Regions from separate parts of the Homo sapiens genome. Here region 1 is linked to region 2. Evidence: promoter capture Hi-C in 16 types of primary human blood cells and fetal thymus (Javierre and others, 2016). All regions are on one chromosome and are shown on one strand. Each heading gives the region's core, a stretch centred on a gene start or on the middle of the fragment in contact. The rest is flanking DNA. Distances are from core to core; before and after follow the strand shown. Region 1 holds the start of RB1CC1 (RB1 inducible coiled-coil 1). Region 2 holds the start of RAB2A (RAB2A, member RAS oncogene family).

What was found. The method cuts DNA at HindIII sites, captures the fragments that hold promoters and counts their contacts. A CHiCAGO score of 5 or more calls a contact.
Region 1: a contact is called between a fragment that was not itself captured here and the fragment with the promoter of RAB2A in region 2, in 1 of 17 cell types (non-activated CD4 T cells). The highest score is 5.9, in non-activated CD4 T cells.

What each region holds. Positions count from the first base shown.
Region 1 is chr8:52,710,877-52,716,511 of GRCh38, reverse strand. It overlaps RB1CC1 (RB1 inducible coiled-coil 1), which reads left to right and starts at 2,077. Exons shown (of 24, transcript NM_014781.5): 1 at 2,077-2,437. RefSeq lists enhancers at 1,513-1,562, 1,583-1,892 and silencers at 1,953-2,122, 2,153-2,622. The HindIII fragment of the contact is 3,580 bases long and covers 1-3,427 here.
Region 2 is chr8:60,514,494-60,519,963 of GRCh38, reverse strand. It overlaps RAB2A (RAB2A, member RAS oncogene family), which reads right to left and starts at 2,977. Exons shown (of 8, transcript NM_002865.3): 1 at 2,711-2,977. The coding sequence starts at 2,756. LOC124901949 (a long non-coding RNA gene) reads right to left here. Exons shown (of 3, transcript XR_007060922.1): 3 at 3,166-5,470. RefSeq lists enhancers at 1,544-1,733, 2,969-3,829 and a silencer at 2,524-3,393. The HindIII fragment of the contact is 4,226 bases long and covers 1,091-5,316 here.

The DNA of each region.
Region 1 (5,635 bases), core at 388-2,887, 7.8 Mb after region 2:
CTAGATATTTGCATATATATAATAGAATTAATGTTAGTACATTTTCACTTATCCCTAGGAAAGAATTACTGATGTTTGTTAAGAGTCTGTTAAGAATATACAAACTCTTAACATTTACACTGGAGGTGTATAAGGTATGAACCAGTCGTTTCTGGTAATTTATTGCAACCTGTGATTAAGAGAGAAGGTTAGGACTGAATTAATTCATTTTCCAAAGAAAAAAGTCAGACAACATTTATAATTTACCAGATTATCACTGGCATAGTTCAGAAATTTTTTTTTATTTTTCAGACAGGGCAACAATCTGTTGTCCAGGCTAGGAGTGCAGTGGTGCCATGATGGTTCACTGCAGCCTCGACCTCCTGGGCTCAACTGATTCTCCCACCTCAGCCTTCTGAGTAACTGGGACCACAGGTGTGCATCACCACGCCCAGCTAATTTTTGTATTTTTTGTAGAGAAGGGGTTTCACTACGTTGCCCAGGCTGGTCTCCAACTCCTGGGCTCAAGCAATCCTCCTGCCTCGGCCTCCCATAAGTGCTGGGATTCCAGGTGTGAGCCACTGCACCGAGCTCCAGCAAGATTTTTACATTCTAAATTGGGTTATATTTGTAATAATGAATGTCACTAATAAGAGGAAGTGCAAGTACCAATACGTTCTTTACAGGCCTCATACTGCAGTTTTTCTTTTCTTTCTTTTTCTTTTCATTCTTGGTCATACTGCCATTTTTCTTAGCCAATTTTCTGGCCAAACTCCTCCTCACCACTTATTTTCTGTGTGCTGATGACTATGCTTTACTACTAAATTTGGCTCTTTTGTCTTGCCAGTTCACACCTTCCCTTAAGGCATAATAACCATTTACTACTTAATTTTCGCTTTTCTCCTCTATCTTGCTGGGGTGGTGTAATAAAATTCCAGCTTAACCAATAAGTAAAATGGCTTGCCAGTGATGATAAAGACCACATTTGTTTGGGATATGTAGCAGCACAAATTTAAAAGTAAATAAATAAAACAAGCCCATCTCAATCCTAACTTACAGATACTGGTCAGTGTGACTGAAAACTGAAATTGTTCATGCTAACCAACGTTTTTCAGTTTCCACCTAACATTTTGTTCAGTTTGGTGCCCTCTTGTGCCTCCTATTTTTACAAACACAACTCAGAATTCCTGATGACTTTAGAGAAGGCACCTCCAAGTTTTCACTCATACCAGATATTCCTGGATATAACAGGAATTTGAGAACTATTATGTAATTATTCTACGTGTAACATCTGCTCATCAGATTTTAATATTCAAGCCTCGTGGCTTCAAGTCATTGCCTGTGACTGATCATCTTCACAAATGCAAGAGTCCCCTGAAACTGTCTCCCAACCATTAGGGTGCTCATGCTAACCCCTAACCCACTAGACCCACTACAAGATTCAGTATTTGTAAAGCTGAAAACGTGGTTGTGGCGTTTACATTTTCATTCCGATTGGCCTAGGCTTCCCTCTCTTCTCTCTTGCATGTTTTCTTGCCTTACCTGGTCTGAGAAATGGTGCCGCCCCACCCTTGCAGAGTTAACAGGGGGACGCTTGCCAGCTGCGTGCAGTCCCGGCGGTCCGGATATGCGGGGAGGTGGCGGCAGGAACGCCTGGGCCAGGCGCTGGTACGTTATCCTGTTACAGACCTTGGCCTAGTCCGCAGGTTGCCCCTGGAGAGGCGACGGGGACACCAGACCCTCGATTGGCTCCGCTCCTCCGCGACAGGCTGAGGGGAACAAGCTCTCTTTCGCCTGGGGACGATCCAGTGTTTGGTGGGTCGACCTTAGTCAGGGCCTAGCTGTCGCAAAGAAGGTCAAATTCACCTTGGGAAAGTACGCACCGGGACGGCAGCTAGCACCATAACAGGCGGCCCCAGCGGAGTCTCCCAGGGTCAGGCCAGGACAGCCAACCTGCCGGCCGGAGAGCCGGAGGCGGGGCCGCCCCCTTCCCGGCAGGCTGCCGACTTCCGGACCTGCGTAGACGCCTCTCTGCGCCTCCAGGCGCGCCCCTCCCCCGGCAGGCCGTTTCCCGGCATGCGCCGCGGAGGAAGAGACGGAGTCGACAATAACAAACCAAGCCGCGGCGGTGTCCGCGGCCCTGCCGAGCCCTCGGCGTTGCCTCAGAATCCCCCAGTCGCCTGGGCCCCTCGGCTCTGACAGGCCGCGGCCTTCTGTCCCCCGGCCCCAGACCCAGAGCCGAGGGGCCTGCTCGCGTCCTTGTCCGCCCGGACCCCTCCCTGCCTCCTAGAGTTCGGGGCCGCGGCGGGCGGGCGCCCGGGACGCCGGCGGTTGTGTCGGCTTAGCGGTGCCGAATGGGCGGTTGGTAACCGCTGCCGAGGACTAGGCGGCGGCGGAAGATGGTGCCGGGGGTCGCTGGCTCTGCTGCTGCCGCCGGCGAAGGAGGAGGCGTTGCCGGGTAAGTGTCGCCGCCGCCCGCGTCCCCTTCCCCCATCTGGCACAGCGGTCGCGCGGCGGGCCCTGGCACGGTGGGCCGGGGTCGCATGGTCCAGGGTTCCGGTCGGCCTGAGCCCGGCCCACGCGCAGGTGTGTGCACGGGAGGGCCCCGGCGCCTCCCGCCCCGGCAGGTGTTGCCCACTGGCCGCTTTCCCGGCGCGACAGCCCCTGTGGAGACAAAAGCGGTTCGAGTCGATGCTCCACTAGGCTGCCGGAGGTGTGGGTCGGACTCGTGCTGCGGGGCTGCCTGCGGCTTCCTCGGCCGGAGCCTTGGGATCCCTCCCTCTGCGCTGCCGCTTAGTACCCGGCCTAGTTGCCGGAGTGGCCGAGGGCGAGGGACGTCCGAACCTCCCAAGACGCATCTTGACTTGTGCTCATCGCTGCCAGGGATCAGCCCTTAATTCTGTGTTGGACTCGAGAAACGGGAGAGTGGAGTTTGGCCGAGGCCGAACGAAGCTCACCGAATGGGAGGAACGGAGAGATGATGTCTTTGTCCCGACCCCAGAGTGCGAGGATCGGTATAAAGTTACTCCTAGGAATGACTCAGCCTGCGCCCGCCCCACGGATAGATTTGGGATGGGTGTGCACGCGGATTTCACAGCTTCCTTGGTAGAAACAAAAATACATTAACCAACAGTAGAAATAGCAGCTTCTGAATGGAATATCTCTATAGTTTCTTCCACCGCCTGGTGGATGTGCTGTGTTTACTGTTTATGGTTTCGTAATCTAGTCGTTTCCATCATGACTCTTTAAAGTGTGGTCATACCTTGAAGTAGTGTAGACTTGGCTGCCAAGGAAGACTCATGTGCTCACTGTTGATAAAGAGTCACGTTACTACGAGACATTCAGCCAGATGGGAATGTTCTCAAGTCTGCTGCAAACATTTAAAGTGTACCTATTTGCTAACTATTTTATTGTGTAGTTTCTTAAGTTTTTGTGTTTTGGTGAAGCTTGTATGATTTATACATAAGTTTGGACAGTTAGCAATTTAGGAAGAGACTTAAGTAGACTTAATTGTGTGTTTAATCAAGAATGTTATTACATTGTGATAGACGATAAAAAGAGGGTCCTTCCACTTCTGATCAGATAAAACTGTGAGAAACCAAGGAACTACTGAGGGAGGTGGCTGATTTTAGTTTTTGGATTATTGGATTTATAAGCAGACCATTGCTAGGAATGTGAAAATATGTTCGCTTTTTATATTTGTTGTAACAGAATATGGCCCTAATGAAGATATTTTCTCAATAACATTCCTGTCATGTCTTTTAATGTTTGTGATTGTGTTCAAAACCTGGATAAAGTTTTATGTCAGGGATGCTTTAGGCACATAATGCTTACGTTGAGAAACCTCTGTTGATGGAAAGTGGATATTGACATAGTTCATATTTTTAAAGTAATTTTATTTAGTCTATTTTGAACTTTTTATGGTAATCAAGATATGATTATTTATGTACCTAATCCTTTATATGTTTGTTATTGGACGACAGGGAAGACAATGAAGCGGTACTTTTGTCCCTGAGTTTTTTTTTTTTTTTTTTTTGGCTCTTGCTGCCAAACACAAGATCAGGATGCATGGCAGATTTACTTTAGCAAATCAAGTTCATAAAGGCAGAAGACACAAGACTTTTGTTTTCGAAATTTTGAACCTAAATTTTGATTATGTTAGCCTGAGAAAAGTTTTTAGACTCTAATATTAACTTAAAATTTTATATCATACATTCAGCAGATATTTGAGCACCTACATGCTTTACTTTGCAGATGTGTATGTCTTATGAATATCTTTTTAAAAGAATGGCTGATAAAATTTTCTCATTCAGGTAATGATATTTTCTGACTCCAGTTACACTTTTCTTTTGTAGTAATACTGGCCTAAGACACTTTGAAAATCTAGCAGTCCCTTTCAACACACTTTCACGATTCTTTTATTATCTTTTTACCACTGTGAGGTTTTTGAACTAGTTACATGAGGAACATAAAAATGTTTAAGTAATTGTTCTTGAGTAGAGACGGGGTTTTACCATGTTGGCCAGGCTGGTCTTGAACTCCTGACCTCAGGTGATCTGCCTGCCTCGGACTCCCAAAGCCCGGCCACTGATTGCCTTTTGAATAAAGGCCCAAGAGAAGTAAGGGGTGTAAGTGTGTGACTCTCGAAAGGAATTTTTGGCAGAAGAAACAGTAAATGGAAAGGCTCTGATATACATGGCATATACCAAGAAAAATGAAGTTACTGAAGCTGGACTGGTATGAGAGAGGCGATAGTAATGGTAGATTGTGGGGCTCTACATATTCAGGTTTGGAAGTCATAGTAAGGAAACTAATGTGCTCTAACTCACAAAGGTCTACAGATGAATTCAAGTAAACCCAGCATGGCTGGAAAGCAGTTGAAGCCAAATTCACTTCATTTATTCCTGAAATGCTAATTGAACCCCTGCAGCATACTCTTTTAGCTTCAGCAATGCAACAGTGAACAAGAAAGACATATCTGTCTATGTATATATATTTATTTATAGGAAATGGGTAACCACTGGAAATTTTCATGGAGGTAAATGACAAACGCAGATTACTTTGAGGATGTAGAGTAGATAAAAGGCTAGCTAAGCCGATTGTATAGTGCTAGGTTGATGAGTTTTTGCTTAACTCACATAGATAAAAGGATGTGAAGATTACTTGTCTCTGATTATTTATTATGGACCAAATCAACTTAATTTGACTGTAAACTGTACCCCCATTGTTTAGGGTCCTGAGAGGATGGCATTTCTTTCTATCCCTTTGTAAAGTTCCGGTTCTGTTGGATTACTTTTTGTAAGTGCAGTACTTGAATGCCTCCAAGTACCCTCTTTCCTTGGCTAATTTGTTTCTGCTTTCATGGCTGTTTAGTGAGTGCTTTGAGGATTGTGGAATAACAATCCTCGCCCATTTTTTTTCATCCATGATTTTTTTCTACCCGTTAGTTTGCTCTTTTGAACTCTCATATTTTATTGGCTTGTAATTGTGCTAGGAGATAAAAATAATTGTGTTCCATTTCCTTTTTTTGTCACTGATTTGAGACTGTCCACTCATTTTTCCTTCACATTCCACACATTATACTTGTTCAGTAACTGTCCAGCATACCTGTTGAAATATTAATTCAATACCATATTATATTACAGTAATATAACGG
Region 2 (5,470 bases), core at 1,728-4,227:
GGGAGGGCCACACTGAGTGTATCTTACAACTATGGGTACACTCTGCATTAAAGAAATATGGTAAAGGATTTTGCCCAAATTAGTAAGCAAGAAGGTGGCAGAACTGGGCAACAACAACAACAACAACGACACCACTTCTGTTAAGTTATTAATATATACAAACAGGAATATAGTAGCCTGTTTGGCTCCTCTCTTATTAGTTAAATATACAGGGCCTACCTTCTACTACGCTCTTCCTGAAAGAAATACAGAGCCATACAAAACATCTTTTCTGACTTCAAGAAGTATATAATAGGTACCTACATAATAGAGGTGCCTATACAAGTATCTATACAACAGAAAAGTCTGGGATCAATATCAGAAGAATGACACAAAGTGAGAAACATAAATTCAGAAACGGAGTAGTCACTTTCAGCCAGGATACTGTGAAAATCTTCACACAATAAGAGCTTAATATATGTTGACTGTGAAGGCATTACGGAAAACTCAGATAAGACTTTGAAGGACTGATGGATCTTCCACAGGGAGAGATTGTGCCGGAAAGCACTCTAAGAATAGAGACTAGCAGTGCCCAGGAAAAAAACACCAAAATCAGTCACTGGGACTCAATGGCAGAAGCAAGGTGGGGAATAGCGGGAAAGAAGGCGAGAAATGTAGATAGGGGCTAAAATATAGAGTTCACTGAAGGTCAAACTAAAAATTGTGAGCAAACAGGAGTAGCCTTTTGACATTCATGCTTCAGGATGACTAAACTGACAGTAAACTACACTGGCTGAACTGGAGTAGGGAGAAGTACTGCTGCAGACTATAACAGTGTCAAGAATTCTGTTCCTGAACTAGGTCGTATCAGCAGCAATGACAAGAAAGAAGTGTCTTCCCTTTGAATTGCGTGGGGACTGCTTTTGGATAAGAGCAAATTCCAAGAGAACAGAGCATTAACTTGTTAGGATTTGTAGCCCCACTACTCCATGCACAATACTTTATTTATCCACAGTACAGCCTCAAATAAAAAACTGAAAAAAGGCAACCAGCAAAGTCTGATTTGAATTTTCACCACTAATGAGATAGCCAAATGCCACAGTCACAAGCTTCTATTTCTCAAACCCACTCATATTACAGTTAATGTGGCATTCCTCTCCAATCTTGTTTTTACAGCCTAAATGAAATTTTGCCAGAAGACTTTAGAATTCTCCTTCTTCCAAATACACCACAGCATTTTTCTTTTAAAGTTTACAAATCCAATTTCCACACACACACACACGCACGCACGCATCAGAAAACCTTGCTGAAAACTCATGTATCTAGCAGAAATTTTTTCTTTCAGGCAGCAATAAATATGCTTTTTTTTTTTTTTTTTTTTTTTTTTTGCAAACTCCACCTTCCGGGCTCAAGTGATCCTCCCGCCTCAGCCTCCCAAGTGGCTGGGATTACAGGCGCCTGCCACGACGCCCGGCTAACTTTTGTACTTTTAGTAGAGACGGGGTTTCACCACGTTGGCCAAGCAGGTCTCGAACTCCTGATCTCAGGTGATCCCCCACCTCGGCCTCCGAAAGTGCTGGGATTACAGGTGTGAGCCACCGCGTCCGGCCAACATGCTTCTTTAGTTACTTATAGAACCTGCCACATCATTAGTTCAACTACAAACTGCTGCTTACATGACCGAAGTTGTGCAAAGGGTCCAAAGTTGTGCAAGAGTAACCACTGAAATCAGACTCTGGTATATTAATAGTTGCAACATCTAAACAATCTTTATGTTTATTATTAGATTCAAAGTAATGCCAAATCACAGGTATTAAAAATATCTACGAAGAGTCTGTTTACTTTTCTGTGAAATATACTAGGACGTCATTTTAAGTGAGAATAACTGAATTTCTTTCAGCTCATGGACATGAGCTCACCTGAAAATTAGCAGTTGTGACACCGGACTTGACATATCTAAAACATCAGCGTCCTCAACATACACATACCTAAGTACACACCCAGAGCACTGAACGACTTTACATTACTATATAACCCCAGTTCACACGTGGCAAAAGTCCACAGAACTCGTTCATGCTTTCCTAACCCCGAAAGGGATTCTCCAGCCGTCAAGTAATGAGATGTGACTTATTCTGACGTGAGAGTTGAAGGTGTTAAAAAAGCATATTTTATATATATGTATATATATAAAATACATATTTTAAAGGTTTCCTTTTCTCTTTCTCGGCTGCCTGTCCCACGCCAAAAAGCGCCTTGCCCAGGCCTTGATAGATGCGTGCTGGTGGAGGAAGGTTGGACTGGTCAGGAACCAAGACCCGGGCCCCAACACCTTCTGCTCCCCTAGGTTTCCCTCCTTCTTTTTCCTGGGGCCGCGAAGAGACCTAACGCAAGGGGCCCTGGGGGTGGGGTGCAGTCATGTGAGTCGGGCCCCGGCGGCCCTGCGCTAGGCCTCCCCTCCTGTCACACACTTCCTGAATCGGGCGTCGCAAACGGCTGCCACGGCCCTCAGCTGCAAGACTGGCCGGGTCGGGGGCCGCAGACCGGGCCTGGCCAGGCCGCGGCCGCTCGCAGTGCCCACGTCACCAGCTCCAGCACTGCGGAAATGGAGCGGCGCGGCCAGGAGGGAGGCGCCGGGTGGAGTCCGCGTCCCCGCCACCGCCAGACGCCGTTTGCCCCTCAGCCCGGGTCCGGAGGCCGCCGACACCCGCCCGGCCGCGCCCGGGGCCCTCACCTGTGTCGCCGATTATGATGTACTTGAAGAGATAGGCGTACGCCATGGCCGCGGCCGCTCAGTGCCAGGGCACACGGCTCCTCCTCCCGCTGCTGCTCCTCCTCCGCGCCCCAACCCCGGTGCCGCTCAGCCTCGAAACGCCAGGCGCCGCCCGCCGCCGCCGCTGCTGCTGTCAGCCGCCGGGAGTGAGGGGCTGTGAGGAAGCCGGACGAACTGACACCCGCAGAGCCGAGGGAGACAGCGCCCGACCGAGCCCAGCCGAACAATAACAGCCGCCGCGGCGCCTCCGCCCCGCCTCCGCGCCGACCCGGAAGTTCTGCGGCCGCCGGCGCCGCCGGAGGAAAGGGGAGGAGCCCCGCACGCTGGCCCAGCCCTGCACGCTGGCCGCGCCCCGCCAGCCGGAGCCCCGCCCCGCCCCGCCCCGCGCCTGCCTTGCCCGGTCCGCCCTGTCTTCCAGCAGGGCGGGGCCCGGCTCCGGTTGTTCCGCCACGTTTGAGCGGGCGAGCCCGGCGGCCGGGAGACGCCAGGGAACGGGGCTGGTGGGGGTACAAAGGCTCGGTTCCGTCGCCTTCAGCCCTGCGGTGGGGGCACGGGGCAAGTGAGGGGACGGCAGAGGCGGCGTTCGGTGTGAGGCTGCGCCCTGGGCTCCTGAAAATGTGTGTGAAAATGTGGGAGGCACACGGCGAGGGGGTGGGGGTGGCCTGGTATTTCTGTGTTTGGCATCGGGGCTTGAAGGTGAAAATGGCAGTATTTATAAATTGGAAACCGTAAATCTGGGACTGCAAAGTAAATCATGGTATGCACGCACAGTGGAGTACTACGTTGCTCTCACCTGAGGTCAGGAGTTCGAGACCAGCCTGGCCAACATGGCGAAACCGCGTCTCTACTAAAAATACATTAGCCGGGCGTGGTGGTGCTCGCCTGTAATCCCAGCTACTCGGAGTCTAAGGCAGGAGAATCACTTGAACCTGGGAGGTGGAGGTTGTAGTGAGCCGAGATTGAACCACGGCACTCCAGACTGGGCGACAGAGCGGGACTCCGTCTCAAAATAATAATAGTAAATAAAAAATAAATAAAGTCTCTGAACCTGTCCTGGTTCTGAGGGCTGCTCTAAAAAAAAAAAAAAAAAAAAAGCCTGACTTAGGTTAAGCAAAACCGAGATGATCTGTTTATGTGTGTGTATATAACATGCACCATATGTAATATATGAATTGTATATAATTTTTATGTGTAACAAATAGTGGGAAAACATTTACATACCCATATATGCATAATCAATCTGAAAGGAAAGCTAACTGGTATTAAGAGAAAGGAGGGAATGGGATTGGGGGGAAAATGTACTTTTCCCTGAATTTTTTTGTGCAGTTTGACATTTTTTGCAGTGTTCATGAGTTACCTATTAGGAAATACTGTTAAAGGAAAAAACAAAATGACTGTGCATTCAAAGAATAGTTATTGAATACTATGTTTCATGTACCGCCAGGCACAGCAACTGGAGGCCCTGTATGTTCTATGTTCTGTTTTTCTACTTTGCTTTTTCAGTCATCCAGCCCAAAATGTCACCACTCTGTTCAAAAAGACCACAGGTTATGGAAGAGGAGGTGGAGAATAGGGTGTCAGGAAAGGTTACTTAGAGATTATGATTTCTGAGCCAGGAATATGAATTATGTATAGAGTTTGTCGAAAGAACAACAGTTTGGGGAGGGGAACCAAAGTTTATGGACAAGGAACAGAATGTGCAAAATTCCTGGATCTGTTCAGGGAATTTGAAGTTGCATAAGGAAGCTAATTGACTAACTCATATCCTCATAACCCATAACCTCATATTGAAGGAGAATCATTGCTGGGGAAAAGCGATTGGGATTTAGTGGCCCTCGTTCCTGTTGCCTAATACTCTTCTCTTTGGGGCCTCTCATTATGTAATTAGTACTGACACCATCATGCTGGGTTGCTAACATGCTTTGGATGGCCTTGCCAAATATGAACTCACAAGGTTTTTCTGGAATATTTGGAGGGGATTTTACTAAAGGGTCAGAGATGGCACGGAAGAATTTGACATGAAAATTTGACATGAAAAGCTACCTGGAATCGCAAAATTTGGTTCATTCACCTTTAGTTTGAGGAAGGGGAGGTCCCTGCCCAAGGCCTCCAGTTTTCAGATGTCATTTTGTCCCTCCCACTTGAGTGCCTTCACCCAAGTCTTCCTTGGTGATGGAGAAACTCAAGTCTTCACTCTCACAAGATAGAGGGATGTGGCCTTCCTTCACCAGCACAACTCTATTAGGATGTTATACAAATGCCTGGCATCCTAGGAGTCAGGAGTATTCCTACACTGTTAGAGGAGGAGAGTACCTGGAGAGGTCTCTTGTGCCAGGTTATGTAGGGCCTTGTATGTTATGTCACCATGCATTTAGAACTTTACTTAGTAGACAAAGGAAATTGTGACAGGAAATGGTCAGAACTGGGTATGTAACAAAAATCATAGAAATGGATATAAAGCTATAGAGGCAATGTGTTATAAGGAAAATAGGATACCTGGCTTCTGGTCTTGGCTCTACCTGTAACTGATCGGATGAATGTGAGGAATCGTTTGGCCTCTTAAAGCTTCAGAGCACAGGTTGCGATGGCTTGTGCCTGCGGTCCCAGCTACTTGGGAGGCTGAAGAGGGAGGATAGCTTGAGCCAAGCAGTTTGAGGCAGCAGTGAGCTAGGATGGTGCGACTGCACTCCAGCTTGGGCTATAGATTGAGACCTTGTGTCT